Regions from separate parts of the Homo sapiens genome. Here regions 2 and 3 are each linked to region 1. Evidence: promoter capture Hi-C in 16 types of primary human blood cells and fetal thymus (Javierre and others, 2016). All regions are on one chromosome and are shown on one strand. Each heading gives the region's core, a stretch centred on a gene start or on the middle of the fragment in contact. The rest is flanking DNA. Distances are from core to core; before and after follow the strand shown. Region 1 holds the start of FASTKD1 (FAST kinase domains 1). Region 2 holds the start of NFE2L2 (NFE2 like bZIP transcription factor 2). Region 3 holds the start of ATF2 (activating transcription factor 2).

What was found. The method cuts DNA at HindIII sites, captures the fragments that hold promoters and counts their contacts. A CHiCAGO score of 5 or more calls a contact.
Region 2: a contact is called between the fragment with the promoter of NFE2L2 here and the fragment with the promoter of FASTKD1 in region 1, in 2 of 17 cell types (activated CD4 T cells and total CD4 T cells). The highest score is 7.1, in activated CD4 T cells.
Region 3: a contact is called between the fragment with the promoter of ATF2 here and the fragment with the promoter of FASTKD1 in region 1, in 3 of 17 cell types (total B cells, naive CD8 T cells and total CD4 T cells). The highest score is 19.5, in total B cells.

Annotation. Positions count from the first base shown.
Region 1 is chr2:169,572,160-169,575,775 of GRCh38, reverse strand. FASTKD1 (FAST kinase domains 1) reads left to right here and starts at 1,911. Exons shown (of 15, transcript NM_024622.6): 1 at 1,911-2,107; 2 at 3,605-3,616. RefSeq lists enhancers at 1,700-1,799, 1,702-2,304, 2,160-2,329. The HindIII fragment of the contact is 12,279 bases long and covers 1-3,616 here.
Region 2 is chr2:177,263,117-177,266,732 of GRCh38, reverse strand. It overlaps NFE2L2 (NFE2 like bZIP transcription factor 2), which reads left to right and starts at 2,006. Exons shown (of 5, transcript NM_006164.5): 1 at 2,006-2,201. The coding sequence starts at 2,157. RefSeq lists silencers at 1,863-2,732, 2,993-3,152 and an enhancer at 2,833-3,616. The HindIII fragment of the contact is 5,708 bases long and covers 533-3,616 here.
Region 3 is chr2:175,166,606-175,170,221 of GRCh38, reverse strand. ATF2 (activating transcription factor 2) reads left to right here and starts at 2,019. Exons shown (of 14, transcript NM_001880.4): 1 at 2,019-2,172. It overlaps MIR933 (microRNA 933), which reads left to right and starts at 2,513; the gene lies at 2,513-2,589. RefSeq lists a silencer at 2,001-2,070. The HindIII fragment of the contact is 6,773 bases long and covers 1-3,571 here.

The sequences.
Region 1 (3,616 bases), core at 662-3,161:
TGCCTTGGCCTCCCAAAGTGCCGAGATTGCAGCCTCTGCCCGGCCGCCACCCCGTTTGGGAAGTGAGGAGCGTCTCTGCCTGGCCGCCATCCCATCTAGGAAGTGAGGAGCGTCTCTGCCCAGCCGCCCATCGTCTGAGATGTGGGGAGCGCCTCTGCCCCACCGCCCCGTCTGGGATGTGAGGAGCACCTCTGCCCGGCCGCGACCCCGTCTGGGAAGTGAGGACCGTCTCTGCCCGGCCGCCCCGTCTGAGAAGTGAGGAGACCCTCCGCCCGGCAGCCGCCCCGTCTGAGAAGTGAGGAGCCCCTCCGCCCAGCAGCCGCCCCGTCAGGGAAGTGAGGAGCGTCTCCACCCGGCAGCCACCCTCTCCGGGAGGGAGGTGGGGGTCAGCCCCCGCCAGGCCAGCCGCCCCGCCCGGGAGGGAGGTGGGGGGGTCAGCCCCCCGCCCGGCCAGCCGCCCCGTCCGGGAGGGAGGTGGGGGCGGTCAGCTCCCCGCCCAGCCAGCCGCCCCGCCCGGGAGGGAGGTGGGGGCGGTCAGCCCCCCGCCCGGCCAGCCGACCTGCCCGGGAGGGAGGTGGGGGGGTCAGCCCCCCGCCCGGCCAGCCGCCCCGTCCGGGAGGGAGGTGGGGGGGTCAGCCCCCCGCCCCGCCAGCCGCCCTGTCCGGGAGGTGAGGGGCGCCTCTGCCCGGCCACCCCTACTGGGAAGTGAGGAGCCCCTCTGCCCGGCCACCACCCCGTCTGGGAGGTGTACCCAACAGCTCATTGAGAACGGGCCATGATGACAATGGCGGTTTTATGGAATAGAAAAGGGGGAAAGGTGGGGAAAAGATTGAGAAATCGGAAAGTTGCTGTGTCTGTGTAGAAAGAAGTAGACATGGGAGACTTTTCATTTTGTTCTGTACTAAGAAAAATTCTTATCCTGTTGATCTATGACCTTACCCCCAACCCTGTGCTCTCTGAAACATGTGCTGTGTCCACTCAGGGTTAAATGGATTAAGGGCGGTGCAAGATGTGCTTTGTTAAACAGATGGTTGAAGGCAGCATGCTCCTTAAGAGTCATCACCACTCCCTAATCTCAAGTACTCAGGGACACAAACACTGCAGAAGGCCGCAGGGTCCTCTGCCTAGGAAAACCAGAGACCTTTGTTCACTTGTTTATCTGCTGACCTTCCCTCCACTATTGTCCTACGACCCTGCCAAATCCCCCTCTGCGAGAAACACCCAAGAATGATCAATAAAAAAAATAAATAAATAAAATAAAAAAAAGAAAGTTGCACAGCATATTCCAACAAATATCAGTTTGGTACCTTTAGAGCCTTACTTTGTTGTAGTGATTATCAGCTGAAAATTATGTCTGTTGTAACTTTGGTAAGCATTCCACTTTGGTTATTTATTAGTGGTATTTTTTTTTTAAGTGTCAAGTGTCAAATCTTGGGACTATTAAAATACCATGGTAAGTAAAAAAAAAATATGGTCTGAGAACTGGTACCTATCCACGACATAAGTGCAGAAACTGAGAGTATGAGTTTGCATACTTTCAAAGTTACTCGACAGAGTTATTTCGTATATGCTAAAAAATAATAAGAAAAATCTGTACGTGTCTTTTCCATGTTTACATTTTTAAATTTCATTTTCCTAAGTATATTTTTGTGTATATTATAAAAGTAGTAGACTTCCAAGGACTAGGAGAACAACCTTAGATAGTAGAGAATCACCTAAACGACCTATATCTTCTTCAACAGCTTAAGCTGTGTACTGCGCTAGAGCCTCCCTCAATGAGGAACTACAATGCCCAGAATTCCCCCAAAATGCGTGAGCGACGTCCATTTCACCCACCTCGCCGCGACCCACCCTGGGATATGTAGTGCGTGACTTCCGCAGTGCACGCTGCGCCTGCCGGGCATTTTTTCCTGGTTTGGGGGCAAGGTCTCATGGGAAAGGTCATGTCTCTCGAAGAAAGGTTATAAACCCTGAGATATGAGGGTTGGGCGAGACATCCGAGCCTGTTTCGTTCCGTGTTGGGACCAGGAATAACCCTGACTTCTGAGCTTTCATAACCCCAGGATCCTCCAGAAAATTTGCGGCGCGCTGAGGGAAAACCTTGCTGGCAAGTCGGGACTGTGTGGCAGCGGCTATTTTTCTTTTCCCACCCAGCACGTTTTCGGGCTGGGGACATAGGGTTCAGTTGAGATACGGAGGCTTCCTTCGGGATATTGGGTTCTCTGAAGTGCGGATGGACTAGGGCAGGGCTGAGACCCCATTCATTCACTCATTTGTTTAGCTCTCCTTTATGCCCGGCGCAGAAGATACCCCTTAGGGTCCCAAGGCCCTTCCTGTAGTTAAGTTCCTTCCTTAAGGTCATTCAGCTGGGGCAAAGCTGGGGACTCGACACCTTTCTATGCTAACCATTGAGCTGCCTCCACTTTGAGCAGCTCAGTGGATGAATATAGTATCTTGAGGATACCTTTGATTTGTGCAGGGTTTTCTTGTGCAGGTTTGTGACCCAGGTCAGCTTAGGTCAGGATGCTGTACTGCTTGCCACAAAATAGCCTGTACTGTCGCGTCGTTTTTTCTTGTGAACAGACTGTTTGGCATAGCCGTAGAGAGGGGTCTGAGACATGAATTTAGTGATACAGCGTTGATTTGTTTGTGTAATGAAGCTGTTCAAGTGGAAAGAACTGAGTTGTAGTCCCTGCTTCACTAGTACTAGAAGGATTTTTTAAACCTTTTTGAACCTATTTTGCCTTATCTGTAAAATGGAAATAATATCAACCTGGAAGGTTAGCTGAGAGAATTTAATGAGATAATGTGTTTCAAACGTTCTTTGTAAATGGTAACATGTTGCAGAAATATTAGATTATATGACTTTAGTCCCTGCTTTTCTAACCATTACTTCTCAATTATAAATGTAAACATTTATAGCATATTTTTAAAACAAATTATTCTTTTTTCATAATTATCTTTAGTTCTTTTATTGTTTCAGCATGACTTGAAACATTACTTAATTTCTTAGTATTTCTTGATTGGTGCTTTAATTGTGTCGTTCATTGGTTAAAACCTATCCAAGGCCAGTAATGATTAAATTATATGACTTCTTTTATTTATTTATTTTCTAAAGAAAGGAATTATTTGAGCTCTTTAAGGGCACAAGAAAAAGGGGCAAGAAATTATCCTGAAAGCAAATAAACCTGAGACCATACTTCTGAAAAATTAAAAAAAAAAAGTATATATATATGTATGTATAAATATATATGGCTCTGAATTAATGCCTACACTTTTTAGAAACTTTGAAGGTGATTATTTATTTTAAACAATTTTCCTCTTTTTCGAAAAGACAGCTCTGAGTTTGTGGGCTTTTTTTTTCCTTTTATGGTAAATTTGAAAACTTTATGTAAATGTCAGATTTAAAACACTTTTAAAATGGGGTGCAGAAAGAAGCCCCTTTTTCTGGACATTTATTTTTTGATCAAATTCTGCTATCTGGTTTAGACTAAGAAAAAGTCTTTAGTTAATGCAGAAAAAATGTATTACTTTAATTTGAATTTTGGAATCATTTTGATATTAATGATGTAAGCATAACCATGTTAAACCAATTCTTTTATAGAAGCTGTACATT
Region 2 (3,616 bases), core at 757-3,256, 7.7 Mb before region 1:
AGAATGGGGTTCCCTTTATTTGGCTAAACCAAATGCCAAACAGCTTTTCCTTAGTGTTTGTTTTTCTTAAACAAGTTCAAACTCTTATCATATTGCTCCCCTCCCTTTGAAAATATGTACTCTGCAGATGCCTGAAATAACACACTCTCAGCAAATTGCAGCATTGGAAAAGTGAAGGTTATTTCATTCAGTCTAAACTCAATGGAAATTTTGTGGCTTAACAAGGAAATACCAAATACTTTATAAACTCCTTTAGAGCAGTAACCATGTCATATGACTCTGGTATCTCCTACCTACTAGGCTCATTGTCTACCTTCTCTGATGTCGTAATTTTAATAAGTAACTTGAATTGTTAACAATTTACTCTTGTCTTTTTCTTGGACTCAGAAATGTTATTTTATTATTATGTCTCTGCATCTTTCATGTGAGGTCCTTTGCAAACAGTTTTCTCCTAACTTGTTTTCATTGTGCAGATCATGTTGCAGGGTTTTCACATAACAGCTGAAAGGAATTAATAGGAGTTAAAGAAGCTTGCTTCAATTACAAGTAATTAATTTAGGCTTCACTTATCTCAAGGAATATCTGAATATACAAATTTACACATAAATCCTGGGAGTGTCAAATTATGCAACCTAGAGAAAGTAAGCTCTGCAGCTTTTTGGGCGTTGATTGCTATAGTCAGGGGTGTGTGTGTGGTTTTTGAATGAAATAGCAAAACCACTGCCAGTATTATCTACTTCACCTGGTTTTGAATAATTCCAGGAAGCTAGAAACTGAAAACCAGTCTTGTATAGAGTTAGAAAGATTGTAAATGCAGAAGAGGAAGAAAAAAACAAAACTAAACCATTTATCTATCCTCTTTGAACCCTTATAAGAGTTCACAATATTCCTCGTTTCAAATACTTGAAGTCTTCTCTGGGCAATGATTAATTTTTAAATAATTGTTTTTAATGTAAGACATAAAACATACGCACTGCAGATTTAAAGCATACTTGGAAGTAACAAGGAGAAACATAAAAATCGTTGATTCCACAGCATTTAATATATTGGTAACCTTCAATTTTTTTCTAGGCACGTTTTTATAAAATGAGCCAATACTATACAAACGTTTTTGTAACTTTTTTTAATTTGTACTATTTTGTGAGTACGTGAAAAAGAAATTTGTAAAGAGTAAACGATTACAGCATGTTGTGGTATTACACACTGTTGAAGGGCGCCATCTGTGGCGTGGTGGCTGCGCTTTGGTGGGAAGAGGTTCTCTTGGGGTTCCCGTTTTTCTCCCAGCTCTGGGTGGGCAATACTGACCACTCTCCGACCTAAAGGGGCTTCTCCGTTTGCCTTTGACGACCTGAGCTTAGGAGAATGGAGACACGTGGGAGTTCAGAGGAGGGCGTTCAGGGTGACTGCGAACACGAGCTGCCGGAGCTGTCCACATCTCCCCTAGGCAGGGCCCACTGGCCCCAGCCCGGGAAGGGAGCAAGGGCGGGAGGGCAGTTGGCAGTGGCACGGTCTGGGTCCAAATCTTTAGCCCCCCCCACCCCGGCTGGCGCCATTCTCGGGCGGTAAAGTGAGATAAAAGCAGGGCAAGGTTCTGCAACTCCAAATCAGGGAGGCGCAGCTCCTACACCAACGCCTTTCCGGGGCTCCGGGTGTGTTTGTTCCAACTGTTTAAACTGTTTCAAAGCGTCCGAACTCCAGCGACCTTCGCAAACAACTCTTTATCTCGCGGGCGAGAGCGCTGCCCTTATTTGCGGGGGAGGGCAAACTGAACGCCGGCACCGGGGAGCTAACGGAGACCTCCTCTAGGTCCCCCGCCTGCTGGGACCCCAGCTGGCAGTCCCTTCCCGCCCCCGGACCGCGAGCTTCTTGCGTCAGCCCCGGCGCGGGTGGGGGATTTTCGGAAGCTCAGCCCGCGCGGCCGGCGGGGGAAGGAAGGGCCCGGACTCTTGCCCCGCCCTTGTGGGGCGGGAGGCGGAGCGGGGCAGGGGCCCGCCGGCGTGTAGCCGATTACCGAGTGCCGGGGAGCCCGGAGGAGCCGCCGACGCAGCCGCCACCGCCGCCGCCGCCGCCACCAGAGCCGCCCTGTCCGCGCCGCGCCTCGGCAGCCGGAACAGGGCCGCCGTCGGGGAGCCCCAACACACGGTCCACAGCTCATCATGATGGACTTGGAGCTGCCGCCGCCGGGACTCCCGTCCCAGCAGGTGCTGCCTCGGCCCTCTGGGCCCTGCGGTGGTGCCGGGACGGGGGCGGGGGAGCTAGGGAACCGCGGCCCGGGAGGGACAGCCGCAACCGGCTTCCCCCACGTCTGGCCAGAGCCAGGACCGCGGCGCTGGGTAGAGCCGCCGCGCTTGCGCCGGGGCAGGGCGGGGAGGGGCAGCGGGGACGCGGCCGGGTGATCCGACCGACCACGAGCCCGAGGGCGAACGGGTGGGAAGTTGCGGGAAGGTCTGGGGACTGAGCCCGCTCGCGTGGGCCTTGGGGGAGAATCCAGCCGCGTCCCCGGGCCCGAGAGCTGGGACTCCGGAGCCCCTAAGTTTGAGCGGCCCGGTGGGCGGCGGGGCAAGAGGGGGCGGACGCTGGCCGTCTGAGCCGGCGCGGCCCGGCCCTTCCGGGGCTGCGCGGCTCCCCCGCCTCGGTGCCGGCAAAAATGTGCCTAGTCACGGGGCCGCTCTCGGGGGAACTGAGGTCGCCTTCGGGCTGGGACCCGGAGCCCCTTCGCCGCGCCCCAAGACCTCCTTGAGTGCGGGCTGCGACGCGCTCACCCCGCTGGGCCGTCTGTGGGCGCGGCTTTGCGAAGTCATCCATCTCTCGGATCACTCTCTGGCAGCCTTGAGCTCTCTTGAAAGCCCAGCCCCGGGACGAGGGAGGAGCGCCTTAAGTGCCCAGCGGGCTCAGAAGCCCCGACGTGTGGCGGCTGAGCCGGGCCCCGCGCACTTTCTCGGCCGGGGAGGGGTTCGGGCTCGGGCACCCGGAGTTGGCCCCTCGTAACGCCGCGGGAAAGTGCGGGCGAGGGCAGTGGACTCTGAGGCCGGAGTCGGCGGCACCCGGGGCTTCTAGTTCGGACGCGGTGCCCCCTGGTGGCGCTCACCGCGCGCGTGGCCTTGGCTTCCGTGACAGCGCTCGGTTGGCCGTCACAGCAGCCCTCGGTTGGCCCTTTCCTGCTTTATAGCGTGCAAACCTCGCCGCGCCAGGGCCAAGGGACAGGTTGGAGCTGTTGATCTGTTGCGCAATTGCTATTTTCCCCAGAGCGGCTTTGTCTTTGGATTTAGCGTTTCAGAATTGCAATTCCAAAATGTGTAAGACGGGATATTCTCTTCTGTGCTGTCAAGGGTAAGAGTTGCGAGTGTAGATTAGAATTTCTGTTGCTTTTAGTCTGTTAGTAATTTTTTGCTTTCAGCTATTATTTCTCCCCTGAGTACTTTATATATGTTTCCTTTTCAGTTGAGAATTTGCCTCAATTTCTTAACATGTTCCCCCTCTTCTGCAGGGGCAGAGAGTGGAACGCTTGCGTTTCAAAACACTTGCTAATTTCTGTGAATTGTTATAAAAGTGAAAAGAAGTTTCTGCTCATCCTTTGTAGAAACTTTAAAAGTAGATATTTATATTTCTAACTTCT
Region 3 (3,616 bases), core at 770-3,269, 5.6 Mb before region 1:
ATTCTCTTAGAACTAAGTTGGGTAGATGCATCATGGAACAAGACAGGCAAAGAAGAGGTCTACAAGAAGTTTCCTGCGTTTGTAAAGAGAAGACTGTAAAGAATTTTAGGACTCTTGGGGATATTGAGGAATGCAAAAGTGAGAACAAAGATGGAAAAGGGTGGCATTTTATGAGGATATGAATAAGTAGTGAGACAAGTTCATGGAATCAGACCTGAATATGGTAACTACATTCATTTTGACAATGCTGAATGTTTTCCCCACTTGTAGAAAAACTATAGTAAACAAACTGCTGTGGAACTAGAAATATGTGGATAAAGTGAGACCCTTTGTTAAATGCCGGGCTGCCAAAATGCATATATAACAGATCGGCATAGTTTCCACCTGTTTCCTGCGCCTATCTTATTTTTTTTTCTCACTTTAGGTATACCCTCTCTTTAGAAAATTAGCTAAAACTGAATTATCAAAACAGATCAGAGTACTGTTCATATCACTAAACAGTTCTTCTCTTGTCTAAAAAGAACTGAAAGACTTTCTTTAAAATAATGTGTTTCTCGAATGCATCATGTAGATAACTAACTGCTTGACAACAGACTGGAGAAGTAGCAATGAGAAATTTAAAACCAAAGCTACTGCCCAATTGAATCAACACTGGAAAAAATTTCAAATGGAAAAACAATTTTTTTAAAAAAATCTATTCTAATTGACCCAAACTTCTTTTGAAATGTCGTAACATTTGCAGTTCTTTTTCTCACATTAGTTGTTTTGGGAGATGGAGAGAGAAGCATCTATTTAATCAATGCGTTCTAGACCTAACAATTGTGATGTCAATCAAACATTTTGTCCACCATTTCCATCATGAGTAATCTGAACTGTGAGGTTTTGCTGACATAATTAGTGTTACACTACAATGGCACTACTACATTACTGTTACTATATGGGGACGGTACTTTCATTTTAAGTAGGAAAGTGTTAATAATTTGGCTTAATGTTTCTTAACTAAAATTAGTTTTAAAAGAGGACTGAGTTGGCTTATACACATGTATGCGGTCCAGAGACCTACCTGTTAAAATGTCAATGCCATTACAATTTCACTTTTATGCCAGATATCATTCTTGAACTTCAGGCTCATTAACTCTCATACTATCCCCCAAAACCTTTCAACAATTTTGAGAGTGTATTTTATGTTAATATATAAACTAGTTCATAATTTTGTTCCAGACTAGAAATCAGTATTTAATAAATGGAAAAAATAAGACACTGAAAATCTTTTATTGAATAATGTAAATTCTCACAGAGGCCTCTGATCATACTTTTCAACTTGTGCCTATTTATTGAATAACCAACATCCTTACAGTTAATATTAAAATCTTTAAGTTGTGTGGGGTTTTTTGGAGGGGAGGGATGGGCAATTACCAGCAAACTCCGCCTCCCCCAAACCTCACCTAACCCGAAGCTCCCCGCCTCAGGCTCCCGGGGAGCCAAGGGGTGGGCTGAGGAACGCAGCCTACTTTTACCCACCTCCCTACCTAGTGCTGGGAAGTGACGGAAACGGAGACACCCGGCTCCTGGGGCTGGGCTCGGAGGACCCATCCTGCTTTCCCTCTAGCAGCCTTTCCGGAGCTCACCACCTTTCCTCCCCTCACACCGCCAAAGCCCTGCCTAGCCCTTCACCGCCGCCTGCACCCGCGCCCTCCTCCAGCCGACAGCCAATCACAGTCTTCCACAGCTCCGGGTTTACAGAAGTAACGCTCCTTGGGCCCTCTGGTCCCGCCCCCTCCAGAACTGCTTCCCGCCCTTCGGGCTCCTTGTCCAATCATGAGCGCCCGAGTGCTCTTTGATGCCCGTCCCCTCTACCCGCCCTGCCGAAGACCCGCCTTCTTCTCCTTAAGCCTGACGGAATCACCTGACTCGGAGGCGCTCCCTCAGAAGGAAGGCAAGAAGGGGCGTGTGGGTGAAGGGGAGGGGCGCCAGAAGGAAGGTGGGGATGCCGGGAGCGGGGCGAGCGGGCGGGGGTTGTCAGTCCGATCTCGCGAGAGAGGACGGAAGCCTGTGGGAGCCCGTGGCCTTTAAAGTGCCGTTCAGCCTTTTCCTCCAGGGGTGCTTTGTAAACACGGCTGTGCTCAGGGCTCGCGGGTGACCGAAAGGATCATGAACTAGTGACCTGGAAAGGTGAGTAACGATGGGCAGAGGTCAGCAGGGCTGGAGACTGTAGGGATACGGAGAAAGAAGGCGCTAACATGGCGACGTCGCTCAGCACAGTCCCCACCCCCCGTTTCCCATCACCTCGGGTGCTCCTGACGTGCTCCTTAGCCCTTGGGGCGATTGTGGCTGTGCTGCCACCTCGGCGGCCCGCGCGGTGTGGGCTTTGGGAACCTGACTGGCTGGGCCGGACCGTTAGGTAACCAGCGTTCGTTGTTCCGGCCCCTCCCTCTCGCGCGCTTTCCTAAGGCAGAGGAAAAAGGAATAACGGCTCCCTCTTAGACCCCTCCCTCCGAATTATCTTCACCCTACTTGGGTCAGTTCAGAGGTCCTCGGGGCGCGCGTCGAGTCAGCCGTGTGCGCAGGGAGACCTCTCCCACCCACAGTCCTTGGGTTGGGCGGGGAGAGGGCCCACTCTGGTCTCCCCACCCAGTATTCAAGCGATTGAGGACCGTGTATTGGTGATGGTGGCGGGGAGGAGGATCGGGAGGCGCGGCTGAAAATAGAATCAGGGTCCCTGGCTGCGGTGCAGCTTGAAGGAAAGAATGGTGTGGAGAACCTAGGAGCTGGAAGTCTCGGCCTTTTCCGTCCTTTCCGCCACCCTCACAATCCCGCTACCCCCAGCTTTTTCCCGGTGGGGCGGGGCTTAGGTGTGGGTGCAGACTGATTCTGGTATTTTCCCTTATTTTTTTTTTTTTAAATCTCTGGGTGGACAGCAGAGCGTATGTAAAGAAATAATTTGCTTTTCATCAATGCCCTAGGGACCAGGGCCGAAAGGGAGTGTGTGTACGTGTTTTCTATGTTCGCTCGTTTAACCGAACCTAGGAGGAAAAAGAGAGGAGGAGCTGGGAACTATTTTTGTGCCCCTAGGTAGTATAAAATTGGCTTTCTTTAATGGAGAGTCTTAAAACTGGTGAGGCCAAGAGCAAAACTACTGTGAATATCATGGAGTAAAAGAGATTACTCCTGATGGACCTTAGGCATCAGAAATTTTAGTGAAAGAAATGTTTCTCTTAAAATTCAACACCTATTTTAAATAGTGATGTAAAGCATTTCTTTACATGTACCTTCAGGTTTTCTAATGCTTTCCTGGCTATTATTTAACTGGTACTAAGGGATTGACTAATCCCTAAATTATAATGTGAAAGTTTAAATTTCTTAGAGGTTTTAAATTATGGAGACGGTCACAATGCATGCATTTAAGATATACATTTAAAATCAGAACAAAAACTGACTTTCTTTGAGCACACTTTTTGTCCTATTTGAAGAAACATGACCACTGGCGTTATCATTGTGAGTAACAGCCGTTCTGATCTTTAAATAGCCATATAGCTTTGGTCTCTTGAATCAAAATTATGAAGGTAAAGCTTTATTTATAAAAGCTTGTTAAAAAGTCAAACCTACAGGTTTAAGT